2 separate regions of the Homo sapiens genome follow, and region 1 is linked to region 2. The links are contacts of gene promoters, found by promoter capture Hi-C in blood cells and fetal thymus (Javierre and others, 2016). All regions are on one chromosome and are shown on one strand. The core of a region is centred on a gene start or on the middle of the fragment in contact, and the rest is flanking DNA. Distances in the headings are between cores, read along the strand shown.

Region 1 (4,653 bases), core at 144-2,643, 280 kb before region 2:
GGTTTTGCCATGTTGGCCAGGCTGGTTTTGAATTCCTGTCCTCAAGTGATCCACCTGCCTCAGCCTCCCAAAGTGCTGGGATTACAGGCATGAGCCACTGCGCCTGGCCCCCAAAGAGCCTTTTAGTCTCATTTAGGAGACGGAATATATGCTCAGCACACTCTTATCCCCCTTTATAGGGCCAGCCAGGCACACTCCTCTGCCTCTAAAATCCCTTTTTTCACCACAGCCACAAAGTATGATTCGTCCTTAAAATTCTGGACCACCTGTAAGAGTGAAGCGGGCACAAAGGCAATTTTGTTATTGGAGCCAAAGAGAACAAGCCATGCCATGGAAAAGAAAGCTTAATCTGAGGCAGAAGTGTTAGCGAGGCCTCCGTGGGGATTTGCGACAGGAAATGGCTGCCCTTTATCTGGTCACTGAGGAGAATGAAGATGCCCCCGGTGCCCTGGTGGAAAAGGTGATGGATCTGATTGGCTGGGATGGCCAGAGCTCAGCCAGTTTCCCCATCAGCTCTACAGCACTGAGTTCATCCAGAGAGATCTCTTGATAAAAGTCTGGGGGCATGGGCAACACAGAGGCAGGGGTCAGCAGGGGAAGGGAGTCCAGAGATGTGCCCACAGGAAACCAGGGGTGCCAGGAAGATGGCTATGGGGTGGGGGGAGGAGAAGTAAAGAGGGAAAAGTTGGCTGGGTGTGGTGGCTCATGCCTGTAATCCCAGCACTTTGGGAGGCCGAGGGGTGGATCACGAGGTCAGGAGTTCAAGACCAGCCTGGCCAAGATGGTGAAACCCCATCTCTACTAAAAACTACAAAAATTAGCTGGGCATGGTGGCAGGCTCCTGTAATCCCAACTACTTGGGAGGCTGAGGCAGGAGAATCTCTTGAACCTGGGTGGCAGAAGTTGCAGTGAGCTGAGATCGCGCCACTGCACTCCAGCCTGGGCAACAGAGTGAGACTCCGTCTCAAAAAAAAAAAAAAAAGAAAAAAGTCTACTTCACCTCTCATCCCTCATCTTTTGGGAGGTGTCTGAGGGGAACCCCCAGTTTAAAGACAGGACACCCACATATTAGTGACTGGGACCCAAGTACATAACAAGATGATGTTCTAATCCCATATGCTAATGCAGTGACGATCAGGTGGGGTGGAGGAGTAGAACATGGTGAATAAACCCAAGGAGACATTCTGGAAGGAGAGGGACTAATCTGGTCATGGAAGGTAGGGAAATGCCAAGAAGGGCATCCTGGGTCCCAGGAATGGTGGGGTATCACCATTCCTCTTCTAGGGAGAGGTTTCATGCAGCTACACCTGAATTTCCTATGTTCTGGAGAGAGAGGCCAGAACCTCACCTGAGTCAGGGTTCTTAGGAACCTCGTTCCCTTGCCTAGAGGTCTCCTGAGCCACATACAAAGTCAGTTGGTGACAGATGGGCCTGGGCCAGGAAAACAGTCTATGTATCAGTCTTATACCTGAACTAACAGCTCCCACTTCTAGCCCCCATCCTAGGAGAGATCCCAGCCTCCTCCCAGGTCTCGAGGGAGGGAGGTCACTAAGTAGTTCTTAGGTATTTAACGAATGCTGGACACTAGGGGGAGAAAAAATGGGGAGGAAAAAACCCCACAGACATCTCTATCCCCAGAAATGGAATGAGGCAGGTGGGATGGCCACAGAAGGAGGTCACAGGAGCCTAGCTTTTCACCCCAGCCCTGCCAGCTTTGGGTTGTGACCTCAGACTGGTCACTGTCCTTCTTGGGCCTGAGTTTCTTCTGTAAAAAGAGGGAGTGGGACTAAGTGGTCTTTAAGGTGACTTCTGGCTTAAACATTGTATGAGCCGGGTGCAGTGGCTCACTCCTGTAATCCCAGCACTTTGGGAGGCCAAAGCAGGTGGATCACCTGAGGTCAGGAGTTCAAGACCAGCCTGACGAACGTGGTGAAACCCCGTCTCTACTAAAAATACAAAAAATTAGACGGGCGCGGTGGCAGGCGCCTGTAGTCCCAGCTACTCGGGAGGCTGAGGCAGGAAAATGGCGTGAACCCAGGAGGCGGAGCTTGCAGTGAGCCGAGATAGTGCCACTGCAGTCCGGCCTGGGCAAAAGACTCCGTCTCAAAAAAAAAAAAAAAAAAAAAATTGGCCAGGCATGGTGGCAGACGCCTGTAATCCCAGCTACTCAGGAGGCTGAGGCAGGATAATCACTTGAACCTGAGGCAGAGGTTGCAGTGAGCCAAGATTGCGCCATTGCATTCCAGCCTGGGCAACAAGAGTGAAACTCCATATTAAAAAAAAAATTGTATGAAACATACCTGCTAGCTAAGTTAGTAAGGGCCACTACAGTGGGAAGGGGACCCTGGTTGGCAGTGTCCAGCACCTGGCTCTAAGAGTATTGAAAAGGCGGATCCCATCAGCAGCCCCGCAGATTTGGATAAGGTCCTGGCATGTAAGCTTCAGCAGATCCAGACCTGTAGAGTCAGACAGGGCCAGACTGAGGAAAGAGGCCTGGGATCAAGGGTGGGAAGTAAGGGACACAGTCTATTAGTCTACAAATAGCCCTAGTGTGCTCAGATATGGGAGTCAGGCTTGGATTTAAATGCCAGTTCTGCCACTTGTTAGCTGTGTGTCCTTGGGCAAGTTATTTAACCTCTCTGGGCACTGTCCTCAAGGAATAGTGTATAAATTATATGGGATAATTCGTGAGACGAGAGCCTAGCACAATGCTGGGCAACTCTTAGTCCCCAGTAAATGTTAGTTGAAGGGCCCACAACAAGCCAGGACAGAGACAGGCTTCCTGCCTGTGTGTCCCACCCACTCTCAGTCCCCTACAGGTCTGGCTCCTGCCAGACACTAGCCTCACCAGTGAAGTTGGCCAGCATCCGGCAGTAGCTGGAGAACCAGTGCTGATGCAACCATTGCTGTGTCTCTGAGATGGGGGCTTTTTGGTTCAGATCCTGAGGTATAAAATGGATGGTCCAGGTAATACCAGGACCCAGGGACAGAACAAGAAAGGGAAACAGCCCCTCCCTTGGGAGGTCCCAAGTCTGAGAAGGGAGGCTCTTCCTGCCCAGTCTTATCAGGTAAGTTACAATCTATGGCCATATCACATCTGGCCACCAGGGGGCAGGGCCACTCCATTCTGGAGCTTGAGATGAAGCTGCGGAGAAGGCTTTGGGACAGTGGAGAGTGGGAAGGGGAAGGCTCACCTCAACTGGGCTACACCCCAAGGTATCCAGAGCGAATGGTGGTGAGGAACAGAGCCTATGAGGAGGAGCAAAGGTTCAAGAACTCTGCGGAGCATTACAGCCAGTCTCCCTCCACCAACACCCTTCCTCCAGGCCTGCCCTGGGACACAGAGCTTGCTCCTGTCCTCACCCCACAAATTCCCCACCAATCCCCAGCCCTGCCCTTTGCTCCATGCCTGGGCTGGGAGCTCTTTTCTTCACTCTCACCCCAAAGGGCTGACAGGAGGTGCTCATCCTGCCTCACCTTTCTGGGGACAAGAGCCTGCAGGAGTGGGGAGAGGTCAGAGCCAGAGAGCTGAGAGGTGGCCGGGGCCTTGCAGGGGACTCCGGCCATGGCGAACACTGCAGGCAAACACACAGCAAGGCTGGTCATTGCTCCCTTCTCTCCACCTGTATATTAAGAGCTGACCAGGGGCCTGACAAGTGGACTGGGTTTCCACAGGAAGGAAGAAGTTAACCACCCGGCGGGCCTGGGGCAGTGAGGAAGGGCCTTGGAGGAGCTGGCCAGGAGGAGCAGCAGGAGGAGGAGGGGGCCAGGCAGAGGGAGCACACAAGGAAGGAGGTGGCGATGGCCCGCGTAGGACAGGCAGCCTGGAGGGCGTCAGCTCCTGGAAGCTTCAACAACCACAGACAGGGCAGAGAGTGTCCTTTGCAGGAAGTGGTGGAGTCCCCAGGGGGCTGTGATGGGCTTGCAGCAGTCAGAGCCCTGGAGGCCTCCATTTCCCCATCTGTACCGTGAGGATCTTTTCTCCAACTCTCCCCTCCTGCTCTCGCCCCAACACACACACCTCCAAGAAGACAGTGCTCTCGCAGGCGGTCTGATACTTGTCCCTCTCATGCAGGGGCTGTTTCTCCATCTTCTCACGGTCCATTTTCAGTTTCCGCTCCTTTGTGCTGCAGGAGGATGATGAGGAAAGCCTCAGGCTCCTTTCTTTTCTTTTTTTTTTTTTTTTTTTTTTTGAGCTGCAGTCTCGCTCCGTTGTGCAGGTTAGAGTGCAGTGGCGCGATCTCAGCTCACCGCAACCTCCGCCTCCTGAGTTCAAGCGATTCTCCTGCCTCAGCCTCCCGAGTAGCTGGGATTACAGGCTCGTGCCACCACGCCCGGCTAATTTTTGTATTTTTAGTAGAGATGGGGTTTCACCCTATTGGCCAGGCTTGTCTCGACCTCTTGACCTTGTGATCCACCTACCTCAGCCTCCCAAAGTGCTGGGATTACAGGCGTGAGCCACCGCGCCCGGCCCAAAGACTCTTTCTTTACCTGCCTGCCTCTCTTCAGTGGCTCTGTTGGATTGGCTGTGAGACAGAGACCAAGCCCCATCCCTCTGTGTACAGAAAAGGAAACAGTCCAAGAGATGGGGCACAGCAGGCTGAGGATCCACAGCAACGTGGGGCCAGAACCCACACAGCCGGCGAGGCCAGG
Region 2 (4,549 bases), core at 1,404-3,903:
GAGGCTGAGGCAGGAGAATCGCTTGAACCTGGGAGGCAGAAGTTGCAGTGAGCCGAGATCGCACCATTGCACTCCAGCCTGGGCAACAAGAGTGAAACTCCGTCAAAAAAAAAAAAAAAAAAAGAAGAAAGAAAGAAAAGAAAAGACAAAACTCCACTAGAAAAACTCCTCACTTGCATATCTCAGTAAATGGGATTAACTTCTACCCATTTATTGAAGTCAGAAACCTGGGAATTATTCCTGTCTCCTTCCTTTCCCTTCCTTCCACCCATATCCAATCCATTAGGTAAATTCAGTTACTTCTACCACCAAAATATATCTCAAACCCATCCCTCAGAGCCACCATTCTAGTCCTGCAACATCCTAACAGATCTTACCCTCCACTCTTAGCCTCATTTATTCTCCACATAAAAGCCAGAGCAATCTTTTAATGATGTAAATCAGATCATAGCACTCTCTGCTTAAAACTCTTCAAGGACTTCCCATGACACTTCCCATGACACTTTGAGTAAAAGCTAAATTCTCACCACTAAGGATCCTTGTTTCCATTATGTGCGTCTGGCCCACTGCCAACGGGATGATACTTGGTCAAGGACCTCTAATCAATGTTGGAGACAGGGGGAAAAAAAAGAATTGTCTGCAGCTGGGCACGGTAGCGCAAGCCTGTAATCCCAGCACTTTGGCAGGCTGAGGTGGGTGGATCACCTGAGGTCAGGAGTTCAAGACCAGCCTGGCCAACATGGTGAAACCCCATCTCTACTAAAAAATACAAAAAAATTAGCTGGGCATGGTGGTGGGTGCCTGTAATCCCAGCTACCTGGGAGGCTGAGGCAGGAGAATCACTTGAATCTGGGAGGTGGAGGTTGCAGTGAGCCAAGATCACACCACTGCACTCCAGCCCGGGAAACAGAGGCAGACTTCATCTCAAAAAAAAAAAAAAAAAAAAAAGAATTGGCTGCAAAAGGATACAAAGCCAGGGCTGGGCCCGGTGGCTCACACCTTTAATCCCAACACTTTGGGAGGCAGGCAGATCGCTTGAGCCTCGGAGTTTAAGACCAGCCTGGGCAACATAGCGAAACCCCATCTCTGCTAAAAATACAATGGTGGTGCCCACCTGTGGTCCCAGCTACTGGGTGGCTGAAGCAAGATAATCAATTCAACCCAGGAGGCAGAGGCTGCAGTGAGCCGAGATCGTGCCACTGAACTCCAGCCTGGGCGACTGAGCAAGACTCTGTCTCAAAAAAAAAAAAAAAAAAAAAAAAGGCCAGGAGTGGTGGCTCACACCTGTAATCCCAGCACTTTGCAGTGCTGAGGTACGCAGGTCACCTGAGGTCAGGAAAAAAAAAGATACAAAGCCAAATGGATGAATATATGTGACTATATAAAATAACAGCATGCCAACTAATCCTAAATTTCCACTCAGTCTTTATGTAGTTCCTTATATATTTTGTGTTGGGTATAATGTAGAATTGATCTACAAAAGTAGAATCTTTCCCCCATTCCCTCTTCCCTCAGCCCTTCTCCTGACTGGCTCCTTCTCCTCCATCAGTTCTCAAATCGTCATATCAAAGGGACCTTGAGTATCAGTCTATCTAAAGTAGCTCTCCGCCAACACACACACACCCCATCATTCTGTCTTATTTCCTCTGTCACGCTGCTCTCACCGGAACTGCTCTCAACATCTGTAGATGCTCTGTCTGTTCATTCTATCTTCCCCATTAGGCTAATAAACTCCATTAAAGCAGGAAACGTATCTGTCTTGTTCTCTATTCCATCCTTAGGGCCTACTCCTGTGCCCGGCCCAGAGCAGGCTTCAATAAATAGTTACAGAATGAATGAAGAAATGAATGAATGAGAATTTAATCTTCTAGCCAGGAAGGCCTAGCTAGAAAGATTTGTCTTGATTTCATCTTGAGAGGATGGAGACACACATCTTCCTTTGATTCCAGACAGATTTATTATTTATGTGTTTATTTAGAGACCGGGAGCGGGGTTATGGCTGGGGGTGGGGGTCTCCCTATGTTGCCCAGGCTGGTCTCAAACTCCTGGACTCAAGGGAGCCTCCCGCCTCGGCCTCCCAAAGTGTTGGGATTACAGGCGTGAGCCACCGCACCGGCAAGACAAATTTAAAAAGGAATGTCTGGAGGTTTTTTTCCACCAAAAGGTTTGATGAAACCCCTTGTAACTTGCCCTACTGGAGTCAGTGGGGGTGGGAGGAACTCAAAAATTGTCTCAAAACTAGGTGAAGGGAAAGGCAGTGGAGCAGAGACGTGGCTCGCCACGTTCAGGATCTTGGGCTACACCCTCCCCTTCCCCACACCGTAACGGCTCCAGCCCCTTCTTGTCTTCAGCTTGGAGCGAAGGGTGGCTGAGGCCTGAGTTTGGGCTCCAGGAACCTCGCCCTTGTTAGTTATTCATGAGACGGAGGGCACCATGGGAGCTGGCTCTCTTGCTATTCATAAAGCGGGGAGGCGGGAGGCGGGGGGGAACCTCCTTCCCGCTAGGGCTTCTGGGAAGATCTACAATATTCATGAGGGAGGCGGGCACTACGAGAGCTGAGGCTGCTTGCTATTCATGAGGGGGCGGGCCTCCTTCCCGCGGGGGCTCTTGGGAAGATTCTACAATATTCTAGAGGCCGCGGGGACGCCTGGTGGGTAGGGCTGCAGCTCCGGAGCCTACGGGAGTGTGACCCTCTCGCCTCCTGGCGGGAAGCTCTTGAGGAGATATTTTCTTTTCTAAACACTAAGAAATTTGAGGATGGTGGGGCAAAACGACTAACTCCCACTTTCCTGTGACTCTGTAGCCGGAAAAACTGTCAAAATCTGTGGTAAAAGAGGGTTTTTTTTCCCAGTATTTTATTGCGATAATTTCATCTTTCATGGACTGAAGGGAGCGAAACATGTACCCCGTGTGGTCTGATTCTCCTGTTGACCAGTTTGTCCTTTAGGCTTCCCTAGTTTGCGGCTTTGGAGATGTTTGGGGGCAGCTGCCCGACAGATGGGGTGGGGCCCTTACAAGAGTTTTATGTTAAAACAGACATCCCTGTGAATGTAGTTTTTATCTTAAAGGTGTGGGGGGCGGGGAGGTTCATCCAATTGAACCCTCAAAACCTTTCACGCGCGGTCAAAATTAGTGGGATAGAACAGGGGGCATGAAACATCATTTTATTATTATTATTTGGGGCTGTGATTCTTATTCGCTAGAGGGGTGAGCGGAAACCAGAAATAATTTAGGATTATACCTTTAGAATTTTCACAAAAGCTTGCTTTTTCCCTACGAAACGTCCAGCTCTGAGTGAGGAAAATAAGGAACTATAAGTGGAGACTTGAGTTTTAGAAGAATTTGGGCTTATCATTTTTAAATTTTTGTTTATATTTATTTTAAACATGTATGTAGTTCACAGTTGACACAGTGAAGTCCCCGCCTGGTGACTGACAGTCTTTGAAGAGCCCACGGGCCCAAGCCCCACTGTCCACATTTCTCAGAGAAACAGGAAGAAGCCAAGGCCGGATTTATGCTATTGTAATAAAAATGCTTTAAAACACCTACTGTGTTGGCCGGGTGCGGTGGCTCACGCCTGTAAATCCCAGCACTTTGGGAGGCCGGGGCAGGCGGATCACGAGGTCAGGAAATCGAGACCAGGCTGGCTAACACGGTGAAACCCCGTCTCTACTAAAAATACAGAAATTAGCTGGGCGTGGGGGCGGGCACCTGTAATCCCAGCTACTAGGGAGGCTGAGGCAGGAGAATCGCTTGAACCCGGGAGGCGGAGCTTGCAGTGAGCCGAGATCGCGCCACTGCACTCCAGCCCAGGAGACTGTGCGAAACTCCATCGCAAACAAACAAACAAAACGCCTACTGTGAAAAGTTAAGGTTACAAACAGCCTTATGGATTAAACAAATTAAGATTATTTTACTTGGTGGAATGACACATAGCCATTAAAATATGATTACTTGTAGAAGGTTATTAGCATGGAAAGAGAATTCATTGAAAAAAGCAGATTACAAAGTATTATATATAGTGATCCCTCTTTTTTGTTAAAAAGAAATATATGTATGTAAAAGTCTGAAATTATATAAACCAAAGTGTTTATAAGTGAACTTAATTTTTTTCTTCTTGTTTAGCTGTATTGTGTAAAGTTGTTATTTGTGTAATTATTTTTTTTTTTTTTTGAGGCAGATTCTTGCTCTGTCACCCAGGCTGGAGTGCAGTGGTGTGATCTCGGCTCACTGCAACCTCCGCCTCCCGGGTTCAAGCGATTCTCCTGCCTCAGCCTCCAGAGTAGCTGGGACTACAGTCGCGTGCCACCATGCCCGGCTAATTTTTTTTTTTTTTTTTTTTTTTTAGTAGAGAAGGGGTTTCACCGTGTTAGCCAGGATGGTCTCGATCTCCTGACCTCGTGATCCACCGGCCTCAGCCTCCCAAAGTGCTGGGATTAAGGCGTGAGTCACCATGCCCGGCCTATTTGTGTAATTTTAATGATAATTTTAAAATACCTCCTAATTTAAGTGTTCACTGAATACTGACCCCAATCGCTGTGGTATGGTT

The links. Contacts are between HindIII fragments. The CHiCAGO score rates a contact against its expected background, and 5 or more counts as called.
Region 1: a fragment that was not itself captured here is called in contact with the fragment with the promoter of FBXO47 in region 2 in 2 of 17 cell types (activated CD4 T cells and naive B cells); the score reaches 6.1 in activated CD4 T cells.

Annotation. Positions count from the first base shown.
Region 1 is chr17:39,243,379-39,248,031 of GRCh38, reverse strand. It overlaps the pseudogene LOC101929578. Among named protein-coding and RNA genes, the nearest start is that of STAC2, 20 kb to the right of the region's middle. RefSeq lists an enhancer at 3,104-3,678. The HindIII fragment of the contact is 2,096 bases long and covers 346-2,441 here.
Region 2 is chr17:38,965,507-38,970,055 of GRCh38, reverse strand. FBXO47 (F-box protein 47) reads left to right here and starts at 2,653. Exons shown (of 11, transcript NM_001008777.3): 1 at 2,653-2,827. The HindIII fragment of the contact is 5,025 bases long and covers 1-3,263 here.